Linked DNA regions of Homo sapiens: regions 1 and 3 are each linked to region 2. Evidence: promoter capture Hi-C in human tissues and cell types (Jung and others, 2019). All regions are on one chromosome and are shown on one strand. The core of a region is centred on a gene start or on the middle of the fragment in contact, and the rest is flanking DNA. Distances in the headings are between cores, read along the strand shown. Region 1 holds the start of PSMB4 (proteasome 20S subunit beta 4). Region 2 holds the start of LYSMD1 (LysM domain containing 1). Region 3 holds the start of SELENBP1 (selenium binding protein 1).

Region 1 (3,748 bases), core at 871-3,370, 230 kb after region 2:
AACCTGGCCAGTGTGATGAAACCCCATCTCTACTAAAAATACAACAACAACAACAAAAAAAAAATTAGCTGGGCATGGTTGTGCACCCCTGTAATCCCAGCTACTGAGGAGGCTGAGGCTGGAGAATCGCTTGAACCAGGGAGGCGGAGGCTGCTTTGAGTTGAGATCGTGCCACTGCACTCCAGCCTGTGCAACAGAGCAAGACTCCCTCTCAAAATAAGAAAAAAAGAAAAAAAACAAAAACAAAAATTAGCCGGGTGTGGCATCTGTAGTCCCCAGCTACTCGAGAGGTTGCAGCTGGAGGATCGCTGGAGCCGGGGAGGCAAGGGTCGCAGTGAGCCGAGATCATGCCACTGCACTCCAGCCTGGGTGACAGAGCCAGACCTTGTCTCAAAAAACAAACAAACAAAAGACACCTAAGGACAGTGTTGAGGATGGTATCCTCACCAGTCTCTGTGGGAGGATGGAATCCTAACTTCCATAAATGCCAGCTAGCAGACATCATTGACCTAAGCACATTTACATTGACTAATTCTGTAAATGTTCACTTCCCTGACTCTACTGACCCTCTGTCTCACTGTCCCCTAACCTCATTTTCCCTATAAAATACCCATTACTTGCATACAAATTGCAGTTGAGTTCAGTTCATGCTGAACTGTTTTTCCTTATTGTAGTAGTTATTACTGATTGAAATCTGTCCTTTCCACTTTAGTGTCCGGCTTTGTTTATCTTTGACAAAATTCACCAGTTTGATTCAAGACAGTTTCCAGCCCCTGCTATGGAGTTACACTGAGAAGGAAACCCCTGGAATTTAGTTTCACCCCTACACTTCCAATGGAATTTTTCTGTTTCTTTAGAGGTGGGCAAGGGCCCTTGACAATAAGGAAACTTTCAGACTTGTCTAAGGTCCCACAGAGAGTGCTTGATCCACCTGAGCTATCACACCCCACAGGGTATACACAAGTGTATTCTTTTTTTTTTTTTTTTTTTTTTTTTTTTTGTGACAGGGTCTCGCTCTGTTGCCCAGGCTGGAGTGCAGTGGCGCCACCTTGGCTCACTGCAACCTCCCTCGGGTTCAGGCGATTCTCCCACCTCACCCTCCCAAGTAGCTGGAATTACAGGCCTGGCTAATTTTTTGTTTTGTTTTGTTTTGTAGAGGTGAGGTCTCACCATGTTGCCAAGGCTGGTCTTGAATTCCTGGGTTCAAGTGATCCTCCCGTCTTGGCCTCCCAAAGTTCTGGGATTACAGGCATGAGCCACCGCACCCGGCCCTGATTCCTTTTTTTATTCTAGCTTCAAGATTCAGTTCTACCGTTATCGGCTGTGTGACTGGGTAAATCACTACACCGCAAGCCTCGGTTTCCTATTTACCAAATGGGTCGAATAATGCCTGCCACATGGGGCTGCTCTGAGGAGTACAGATGTAAGAGATCCTGTGTTCACTGATATTTTCATGTGGGCTTTTTGATAATGATACAAAAGGAACATGAGAACTGTGACTTCTAGGCCGGGCGAGGCGGCTTACTCCTGTAATCCCAGCACTTTGGGAGTCCGAGGCAGGCGGATCACCTGAGATCCGGAGTTCGAGACCAGCCTGGCCAACATGGTGAAACCCCATCTCTAGCAAAAATACAAAAAATTAGCCAGGCGTGGTGGCAGGCGCCTGTAATCCCAGCTACTCGGGAGGCTAAGGCACGAGAATCGCTTGAATCTGGGAGGCGGAGGTTGCAGTGAGCCGAGATCGCGCCACTGCATTCCAGCCTGGGGGCCAGAGCGAGACTCCGTCTCAAAAAAATAAAAAATAAAATAAAAAATTGTGACGTCTCACTCAGGATCAGCGTCTTTAAGTGGCCACCTCCCCACCCCACCTTCATGCCTCCCTCCTCCTTGAATCGTGTGTTAGAACGCTGTGATCTGGTCCAAACTCCACGGAGATGCGATGCGATGCGAAGCGATGTTGGGCAATTTCAACTCCCTGTCTCGGTCGCCACCTAGGATTACTGCATGTTCAGCTACGACCTCATCAACATGGCTGCTGGAAGTCGTCTACAGGAAAAAGAAAGAAATGACACTGAAGGATCACTTCCGCTTCCGTTGGCGCAAGCGCTTTCATTTTTTCTGCTACCGTGACTAAGATGGAAGCGTTTTTGGGGTCGCGGTCCGGACTTTGGGCGGGGGGTCCGGCCCCAGGACAGTTTTACCGCATTCCGTCCACTCCCGATTCCTTCATGGATCCGGCGTCTGCACTTTACAGAGGTCCAATCACGCGGACCCAGTAAGTTCTCGGCGCTTTCGTTTGCGTAGCGGGAGGGACCGTGGGGCCTGGTGCTGCCGGCTGGTTTTGAGAGCCCGGGAAGGTGAGGCGGGGACCCCGGGGGCGCGCGAACGGCAGGGGAGCTCAGGGCGCGGAGTCCTGGAGAATGCAGAATAATTGGAAGGAATTATAGAAAATCAGAAGCGCAGCTCAGTGCGCGGAAAGAGGGCGCAGTCCATCCCCCCTCTCAGCTCCCACCGTTCTCACTCTTTAGGAACCCCATGGTGACCGGGACCTCAGTCCTCGGCGTTAAGTTCGAGGGCGGAGTGGTGATTGCCGCAGACATGCTGGGATCCTACGGCTCCTTGGCTCGTTTCCGCAACATCTCTCGCATTATGCGAGTCAACAACAGTACCATGCTGGGTGCCTCTGGCGACTACGCTGATTTCCAGTATTTGAAGCAAGTTCTCGGCCAGATGGTGTAAGTCATCCAGAGAACAGGAGAGTGGTTCCCAAGTAGAGAGGGGAGTCCCCTGTTTTTTATTCCCTTCGATGGGATGGGGGGACTTGTTGCAGCGGGGGACTGGAAGAGTTGTTGGAGGTGGGCGATCTGTGTTTGCAATAAAGTTTTTGGCATTAGGTGTAAAATGGGGGAAGGTGTGGTAACTTCTTTTGGGGATGGGTGGAGACCCCGACTTAATTCTCTCCCTTTTCTCACAACCAATTCCTTTTAAGGATTGATGAGGAGCTTCTGGGAGATGGACACAGCTATAGTCCTAGAGCTATTCATTCATGGCTGACCAGGGCCATGTACAGCCGGCGCTCGAAGATGAACCCTTTGTGGAACACCATGGTCATCGGAGGCTATGCTGATGGAGAGAGGTTCATATGAATACAAATAACTTATTTCCTTTACCACCCAACCTAGTACCTGTGTAGTATCTCTTCTGTCTCTTCTCCCCAAGTGAATCCCACTTTAACTCAGACCCCATGGTCCCCTTCTTCAGCTAAGATGAATCTAAGGTGAAATGAGTTTTGACCCATTGTGTCCTGTTAGCTTCCTCGGTTATGTGGACATGCTTGGTGTAGCCTATGAAGCCCCTTCGCTGGCCACTGGTTATGGTGCATACTTGGCTCAGGTAAGTAGTAAGTCTAGAGGTGGGGGAAAGGGAAGACAAAAGGAAATGGATTAGTGGTTGTCTGCTTTTCTCCTGAAATTCTGATATGAGGGATGGGCTGGGATCGCTATTACTGGGCAGATGGTTTTCTTTGTAGTCTGGGGGCTGTAGGTGTTGACACTGATTCCAGTGACAAGATGACATGACTGGGAGTCAGTAGACATGCAAAGAGAGGACACCCTAGAACTTCTTCCTGAAGTGGCTCTTAGCTTATTTTCTAAGCAGAGTTCATTCTGGTGAGGCAAGAAGTAGAATGTCATCTTTCACTCTAATGCTTTTTATACCATAGATTTGAGACAACTAGCCTGTTATTCAG
Region 2 (3,354 bases), core at 123-2,622:
CACAAAGGAGGCCACCTTACTGGAAAGAAGGCAGAGCATTGAGGAGGAACCAAGAGCAAGGAGAGGTGGGCACTTTAGGAACTGAGAACTAAAAATCAGCTCTCCATTAGTTGCTGTAAACGTTTAATCACTCTCAACATAAAATTTTCTGTGTGGTTAATAGAGTCAGACAGACCTGTTTGAATCCCAAATCTGACGCTCATTATTTGACCTTAGCCAAACTGGTTAACCAATCCAAGTCTCAGTTTCTTCATCTGCCAAAAGGGAACGATAAATGTATACTTGATACAGATGTGAGGGTGAAATGAGCTAACGTATGTGAAGCCCTCAGCACAGTGTCTGGCATAATAAAATAGGAGCTGTTCCTCTCCGTTGGAATAGTAGGGCAGGACTTGTGCAACACTGTGATGGGAAAACAAAGATAAAGGCAGAACAGAGTGCAACACATTAGGAACATTTCAGGGGAGGTTACCTAGAAGGGCCACTACATTCTTCTCAGGACTAAATCCCTCCTGACTGTTGTCTTCACCCCAATCCTGGAAAACTCACCGTCACCCCATATTTGAGTGCTAGTCCAGCCAGGGTGTCTCCGGGCTCCAACTGATGCTCCAGGCGTCTTTCCCTCACTGGGGAGCAGGCCGATTGCACCAGGCTTCCATATGAACGAGCCCGGCTCCCTTGAAGCAGTCCTGACCCCCCTGGCGGGGGCTGTCTAGACGGGGAAGCCATCTCTTCACCCTGCCAACAGCTAAGGTTGCAACTAGGGGAGGTACGACCGAGACTGCGACTGACAGGCCTGAAGTCTGGGAATGAATATTCAGGGGATTCCTTTCCCCCTCTCTCTTCCCCTGTGTCCCCGCCTCCCCAGCACTACGCCATCTGCCCCCTCCCGGTTTCTCCTCCCTCCAAGCTACTTATCCACAAATCTGTCCCTTGAGTATTCAGTCCCTCCCTAATTCTCCCCTAAGCACCCCTCCGACTTTGGACTCCCCCACAACTCCTCGCTACATTGACCTCTGACCTTTGAACTCTAGAAATAATCCTCAACACTCTTTCCTCAGTTTGCCCCCAAGTAGCCTGGCCTCAGGGCGCTCCAACATCCCAGCTCTCCCCGGTCCCGGGGTTTGTTTGCTAGAGTCAGGAACAAATCAGGCCCACCCCAGGTGAACTGTCGCCGCAGACGAAGAGCGTGAGGATTGCAAGAATTTGTAGTACACCTTCCACTCAGAGATCCTCAAAGGTCCGCTCCGCATAAGATAGGTCACACCCTCAAATTTCGGCTCCACATCTAGGTTGTTGTCCCTCCAAACGCCTCAGATCCGCCAAGATGCAAGGGCCTGGATCCAGTTGAGCGGCAAGGTCTTTGAGAAAAGACTTCATTTCCCAAAAGGCTCCGCGTCTGCGGAGTCGCAGGGCACCATAGGAAATGCAGTTCCCTCCGAGCACCAGAGAGTGGATTTCCGGATCGCGCAATGCATGCGTGGAAGTGCGTCCCCGGAAGTACGGAGGCCGACAGGAAGAGAAGGAAAAAAGAGAAGGCGCTGTCCCGCTCTTGCTACGGTGGCCTGGAGGAGTGGCGAAACCGGAACAGAGAATTTATCACTTCTGGGACTCACAGTCGTGATGTCTTTCAAGAGGGAAGGAGACGATTGGAGTCAACTCAATGTGCTCAAAGTAAGCGTGAGCGGAGAGGATCTGGAGCCGCTTCAGTCGCTCCCTGAAGGTTGGGAAGGAGCTTTGTTTCATTGCTCTGGCAACAACTCGGGGGTGCAGGAGAGAACCAGGCGACTTAGAGCTGTGTAGTGACTCCTTTTTCGGTCTATGATCGCTGTTCTCCCCAGGGTCCTTATTCCATTTCACTCCTCATTTCTATAATTTCACTTCCACCCCTCTCTCCTATCCCGCTGATCCCGTCCGGATTTCTTCCCCTACTCCCTGCAGAAAAGAAGAGTCGGGGACCTCCTAGCCAGTTACATTCCAGAGGATGAGGCGCTGATGCTTCGGGATGGACGGTAAGAGCAAGGAGTGGCTCAAGCCTGAGGGTTCTGCGGTTAGAGGCTCAATAGACTTTTTTTTTTTTTTCCTTTGAGACGGAGGTCTCGCGGTGCTGCCCAGGCTGCCCTCGAACTCTAGGGCTCAAGTGATCCTGCCTCCTCAGCGTCGCGATTAGCTGGGTTTACAAGCGCATGCCACCACGCCTGGCTTCAACAAACTTTTGTTATTAATTAGGACAGCAGGAGTACCTAGGATTCTTTGGCGGCCAGTGAGGACTGGAAGAAGTGGAGATTGGGTCACCAGGGAGTTGGGTTTTGCAAAGACTGCTAGGACAGGGTGGGACCTATGGCAGGGACGGGCCCAACCCTCTTCCCCTGGACCACTTATCCTCTTCTCTACCCCTGCTCAGCTTTGCTTGTGCCATCTGCCCCCATCGACCGGTACTGGACACCCTGGCCATGCTGACTGCCCACCGTGCAGGCAAGAAACATCTGTCCAGTAAGTTAGGGGGAAGACGGGATGGGGAATAAACCCTCGAAATCTCTGCACACCACTCTTGGTGCTATGCTTTTAATTCTGTTTCCCTTTCTCCTCAGGCTTGCAGCTTTTCTATGGCAAGAAGCAGCCGGGAAAGGAAAGAAAGCAGAATCCAAAACATCAGAATGAATTGAGAAGGGAAGAAACCAAAGCTGAGGTAATCAGAGAGTGGAGAGTGTGTTCTAGGCAAGACCCTGCTGCACACACCAGGCTGGAAGGGCGGAGGGCTGAAGGCTCTGACTCTGTCTCCCATCTCCTTACCAGGCTCCTCTGCTAACTCAGACACGACTTATCACCCAGAGTGCTCTGCACAGAGCTCCCCACTATAACAGTTGCTGCCGCCGGAAGTACAGGTATGGGACGGGAAAGCCAGAGGTAGGAAGGCTCAGAAGGAGACAGATGGCTCTAAAAGAGTTTTCCAGTGTGTATTCTGAGGAATACTAGTGTTCTGGAGATGTTACTTAGTGTTTCAAGAAAAGGAGAATTTTGGCTGGGCGCGGTGACTCACGCCTGTAATCCCAGCACTTTTGGAGGCTGAGGTGGGTGGATCACTTGAGGTCAGGAGTTCAAGACCAGCCTGGCCAACATGGTGAAATCCTGTCTCTACCAAAAATGTAAAAAATTAGCTGGGTGTGTGGTGTGTGCCTGTAATCCCAGCTACTCAAGAGGCTGAGGCAGGAGAATTGCTTGAATCCGGGAGACAGAGGTTGCAGTGAGCCACGGTCACACCACTTCACTCCAGCCTGGGTGACAGAGTGAGACTCCATCTCAAAAAAAAAAGAAAAGAAAGAAAAAGAAAAGGAGAATTTTGTGATTTTTAAA
Region 3 (3,484 bases), core at 454-2,953, 210 kb after region 2:
ACGAAAAGTGGGCAATAATGATATTCTACCTACTTTGCTAGGTAGATATGGAGGACAAATAAGACAATGTATTCCAAAGGCCTTTCATAAAAATGAATTAGGCCGGGTGCGGTGGCTCATGCCTGTAATCCCAGCACTTTGGGAGGCTGAGGCGGAAAGATCACCTAAGGTCAGGAGTTTGAGACCAGCCTCACTAACATGGCAAAACCCTGTCTCTATTAAAAATACAAAAATTACCCTGTATTAAAAATTAGCCTGTATTAAAAAATACAGGCATACACCTGTAATCCCAGCTACTTGGGAGGCTGAGGCAGGAGAATCACTTGAACCTGGGAGGTGGAGGCTGCAGTAAGCCGAAATCACGCCACTGCAGTCACTCCAGCCTGGGCAACAAGAGTGAAATTCTGACTAAAAAAAAAAAAAAATAATGAATTACTGTGTAAATATGGGAAGGGCTGTGCCAGAGGAGAGGAGAATGCCAGGGAGTGCTCGATGCCCAGCGAGAGGGCTGGAGGTGGGGCAGGGAGAGAGAGAGAGGTCCAGTTCACAGGAGTTAAGGAGACTGGTTCTGTTACACAATCTTGCTAAGTCGGGGCTTGGCACCAGATGACAGGGGGTGGGGAAGGAGGTTGCTGGATACAGAAGGGAAAGGAGATTTTAAAACTCCAAGACCTCAAGACAGAGATACAAAAAATACAAAGCTAGGGAGAAGCTGAGAGGGAAGTAAAAGTGCAGAGATGGAGCTGCCCGCTCTGCAGCCTCGGCCCACCCCACACCCCAGCAACCCCAGCCCCAGCATTTCTTAGGGTCAGGCCTGGCATGCCACTGCAGCCCCAGGGAGCATCATTCCTCTTTCTGGGGAATACCCCCATCTGAAACATCTCAAGCAAGGTCTCGGAGCAGCTTTGGGTTTGGGATGGACTCATGGAAAGCTCAAGTGGGTTTTCCATGTCAGGCTGGCTGCTGGGCATTCTGCCAGCTCGGCATTCTGCCAGCTCAAGAGCCAGCCCCGAGCGGGGAAGGACCTCCCAACCAAACCTCAGTTCCTTCTTAGCCTGTCACCCAGAAGCCTACAGATGGAGGAATAGCAGGGCCAAGGGGGATTTAGGGGTGGGGGAGGCATTGAAACAGGTCCCCAGTGAAAGAGTGTGGGGGTCTCTGATTTCCCTCCCAGAGAGCTTTGCTGTGTGGAGTAGCTAGAGAGTGACCTGGGCACAGAAAGGCTTTGGACTCCCTACCTCGCTGGAGTACAAAGTTGGCCCATGGCTGAAATCAGGATCACCTCTCTACTATGTGAGGGCCAGGGACCTAGTGGTGTTTTCTAAGAGCGCCCATCTGATTTTCCCAGCTGCAGAAAGGCACCCTGGTCCCAGCCTCTGCTGGATGGAGCCAAGTCAGGGCCCAGGATCCCATCTCCCAGCAGTGCCTCTGCCCGTCTTCCTCAGAAAGTTTGGCTGAGCTGGGAAATGCAGTGGGGTGGTGGGGGAGGGGGTGTGCAGACTGGGGACAATGAAGCAGAGTCCACTACTCCCTCCCCAGCTCCCCACTCAGGTTTTCTAGCATTTTCTGGAGGAGGGCCTTCCAAATTAGGGGCAGACAGAGCAGGCAATGGGTGATTGGAAACCCCTCTCCTTACCCATGCTGCCGACTGGTACACTTTGATCCCGGCGGGTTTGCTGTGCTGGTGTCAGAGGCCGCTGTTCCGGGGAAGGAGCGAAGGGAGGGAATTTATACAACCAGCTGGGGGTGGGGCAGAGAAGGAGGAGGGCCCGGGCTGTAGCCCAGAGTAAACTACTCAGGGCAGCTGGCCAGGATACTCTCAAGTGGCCTAGGGCAACTGGTGTTTGAATTATGGGGTGTGCGTGTATGTGTTTAAGTGTGTATGTGTGGGAGCCTGTGCTTTATTTATTTATTTATTTATTTAGAGACAGGGTCTCACTCTTGCCCAGGCTGGAGTGCAGTGGTGCGATCTCGGCTCACTGCAACCTCTGCCTCCTGGGTTCAAGTGATTCTCCTGCCTCATCCTCCCGAGTAGCTGGGATTACAGGCACCCACCACCATGCCCAGCAATTTTGTATTTTTAGTAGAGAAGGGATTTCACCATGTTGGCCAGGCTGGTCTCAAACTCCTGACCTCAGGTGATCCACCCGTGTCGGCCTCCCAAAGTGCTGGGATCACAGGTGTGAGCCGCTGCCCCTGACCAGCTCGTGCTCTTTAGTGGGTGCCTGGGTGTGTGTGGATTTGTGTGTCTGGGCATGTGTGTGTTCCTGTATACCTGCGTGTTGCTCGTGCACGTGCCTGCATGAGTGTGTATCTGTGCCTGTGTGTGAATTTCCACGTGTGTGAATGTGCCTGTGAGTGTGCTTGTGTGTATTTGTGCGTGTGTGTGTGTGCGCGCCTCTGTATGTGCCTACCAGAGTATCTACGCCTGTGTGTGTGTGTGTGTGTGTGTGCGCGCCTCTGTGAGTATGTGCTTGCTAGAGTATCTACGCCTGTGTGGACATGTGCATAAGTGCTTGTGTATGTGTAGTGTGTGGCTATGTGGCTGTGCATGTGCTTGTGTAAGCCTGCGCACGTATGTGTTCCTGTGTCTCCAAATGCTCGTCTTTGTATTTGGACCTGTCTCTTAGCATTTAGGGGCACCCGGGACTGTGGGCCCATCAGCCAGGGTCACTTCTTCCCTAAGATTGCCCTCTTATTCCAGATATTCATACTCTTTGGATAAAAGCTCTGGGGTGAAGTTTTTATTGGCTAGGAAAAAGAATAAAGTCTGGGCTTGAGATTGCAAGTAGAATACAGGGTTTCCAAACCAGAGTGGGGGAAGGGGAGCAAAATTGGGCCTTGGTGCATTGGGTATCTGTCTTCCTGGCTCCCATCAGTGAGGGATCATGTGCCCATCAAGGAAGACTCCCTGTGGCTGCCCGGGGCAAGGGTCTTCTCTTATCCCCAGCGCCACTCAACCCCTCTTGGCTCCATCCTGCATCTATTATCCTCACCATTGTGCCATCAGCCTGCCAGGCATCAAAGAGAGTCTTGTGTGTGCAGCTGCCCCACGGGGAAGGCCCTGAAGGCTGCTTCCTTGTCTTTGCCAGCTTCCTCCTGTCCTGACTACCTCCACTCACCCTGCCTTCACCCTTCCCTCTGGCCCTCCCCTCTTCCTCCTCCTGAGGTCTCCATCTCCTGCCTCCTCTCTATTCTCCGGCTTCTTGGCTTGGGTTAGTCCACCACCCAAGATCTGAAAGAGAAAGAAACTTTATCCCCACCTTCTCATAAAAAATTATTGAGTCATTAACTTAAAAAAAAAAAGGCTGTTATTTTGTTTGTTGTGGTCTGTCATTGACTACCTCTTTCATGCTCCTGAGCTCTGACCTGGCTGGTCTCTGCAGCAACTCCATGGCACCCCTCACCTCTGCCTGTGGTTTTCTCCCTGAACTCTTGCTCTACAGCCAGCAGGTGGTTGGGGAAGTTATCCTAATCTGGGCTA

The links. The method cuts DNA at HindIII sites, captures the fragments that hold promoters and counts their contacts. A contact is called where the count stands out against the background at its distance.
Region 1: a contact is called between the fragment with the promoter of PSMB4 here and the fragment with the promoter of LYSMD1 in region 2, in 1 of the 25 tissues and cell types used here (heart right ventricle).
Region 3: a contact is called between the fragment with the promoter of SELENBP1 here and the fragment with the promoter of LYSMD1 in region 2, in 2 of the 25 tissues and cell types used here (liver and stomach).

The regions. Positions count from the first base shown.
Region 1 is chr1:151,397,453-151,401,200 of GRCh38, forward strand. PSMB4 (proteasome 20S subunit beta 4) reads left to right here and starts at 2,121. Exons shown (of 7, transcript NM_002796.3): 1 at 2,121-2,275; 2 at 2,529-2,735; 3 at 2,990-3,136; 4 at 3,312-3,393. The coding sequence starts at 2,136. RefSeq lists enhancers at 1,478-2,200, 1,801-1,850, 2,201-2,922 and a silencer at 2,691-2,848. The HindIII fragment of the contact is 13,788 bases long and covers 1-3,748 here.
Region 2 is chr1:151,164,530-151,167,883 of GRCh38, forward strand. It overlaps LYSMD1 (LysM domain containing 1), which reads right to left and starts at 1,373. Exons shown (of 3, transcript NM_212551.5): 1 at 550-1,373. The coding sequence starts at 729. It overlaps TNFAIP8L2-SCNM1 (TNFAIP8L2-SCNM1 readthrough), which reads left to right. Exons shown (of 7, transcript NR_144937.2): 2 at 1,942-2,012; 3 at 2,405-2,493; 4 at 2,592-2,689; 5 at 2,797-2,885. It overlaps SCNM1 (sodium channel modifier 1), which reads left to right and starts at 1,615. Exons shown (of 7, transcript NM_024041.4): 1 at 1,615-1,674; 2 at 1,942-2,012; 3 at 2,405-2,493; 4 at 2,592-2,689; 5 at 2,797-2,885. The coding sequence starts at 1,624. RefSeq lists enhancers at 855-1,560, 1,314-1,593, 1,561-2,267, 1,614-1,663. The HindIII fragment of the contact is 12,820 bases long and covers 1-3,354 here.
Region 3 is chr1:151,371,002-151,374,485 of GRCh38, forward strand. SELENBP1 (selenium binding protein 1) reads right to left here and starts at 1,704. Exons shown (of 12, transcript NM_003944.4): 1 at 1,637-1,704. The coding sequence starts at 1,640. RefSeq lists enhancers at 1-311, 1,058-1,641, 1,642-2,225. The HindIII fragment of the contact is 19,764 bases long and covers 1-3,484 here.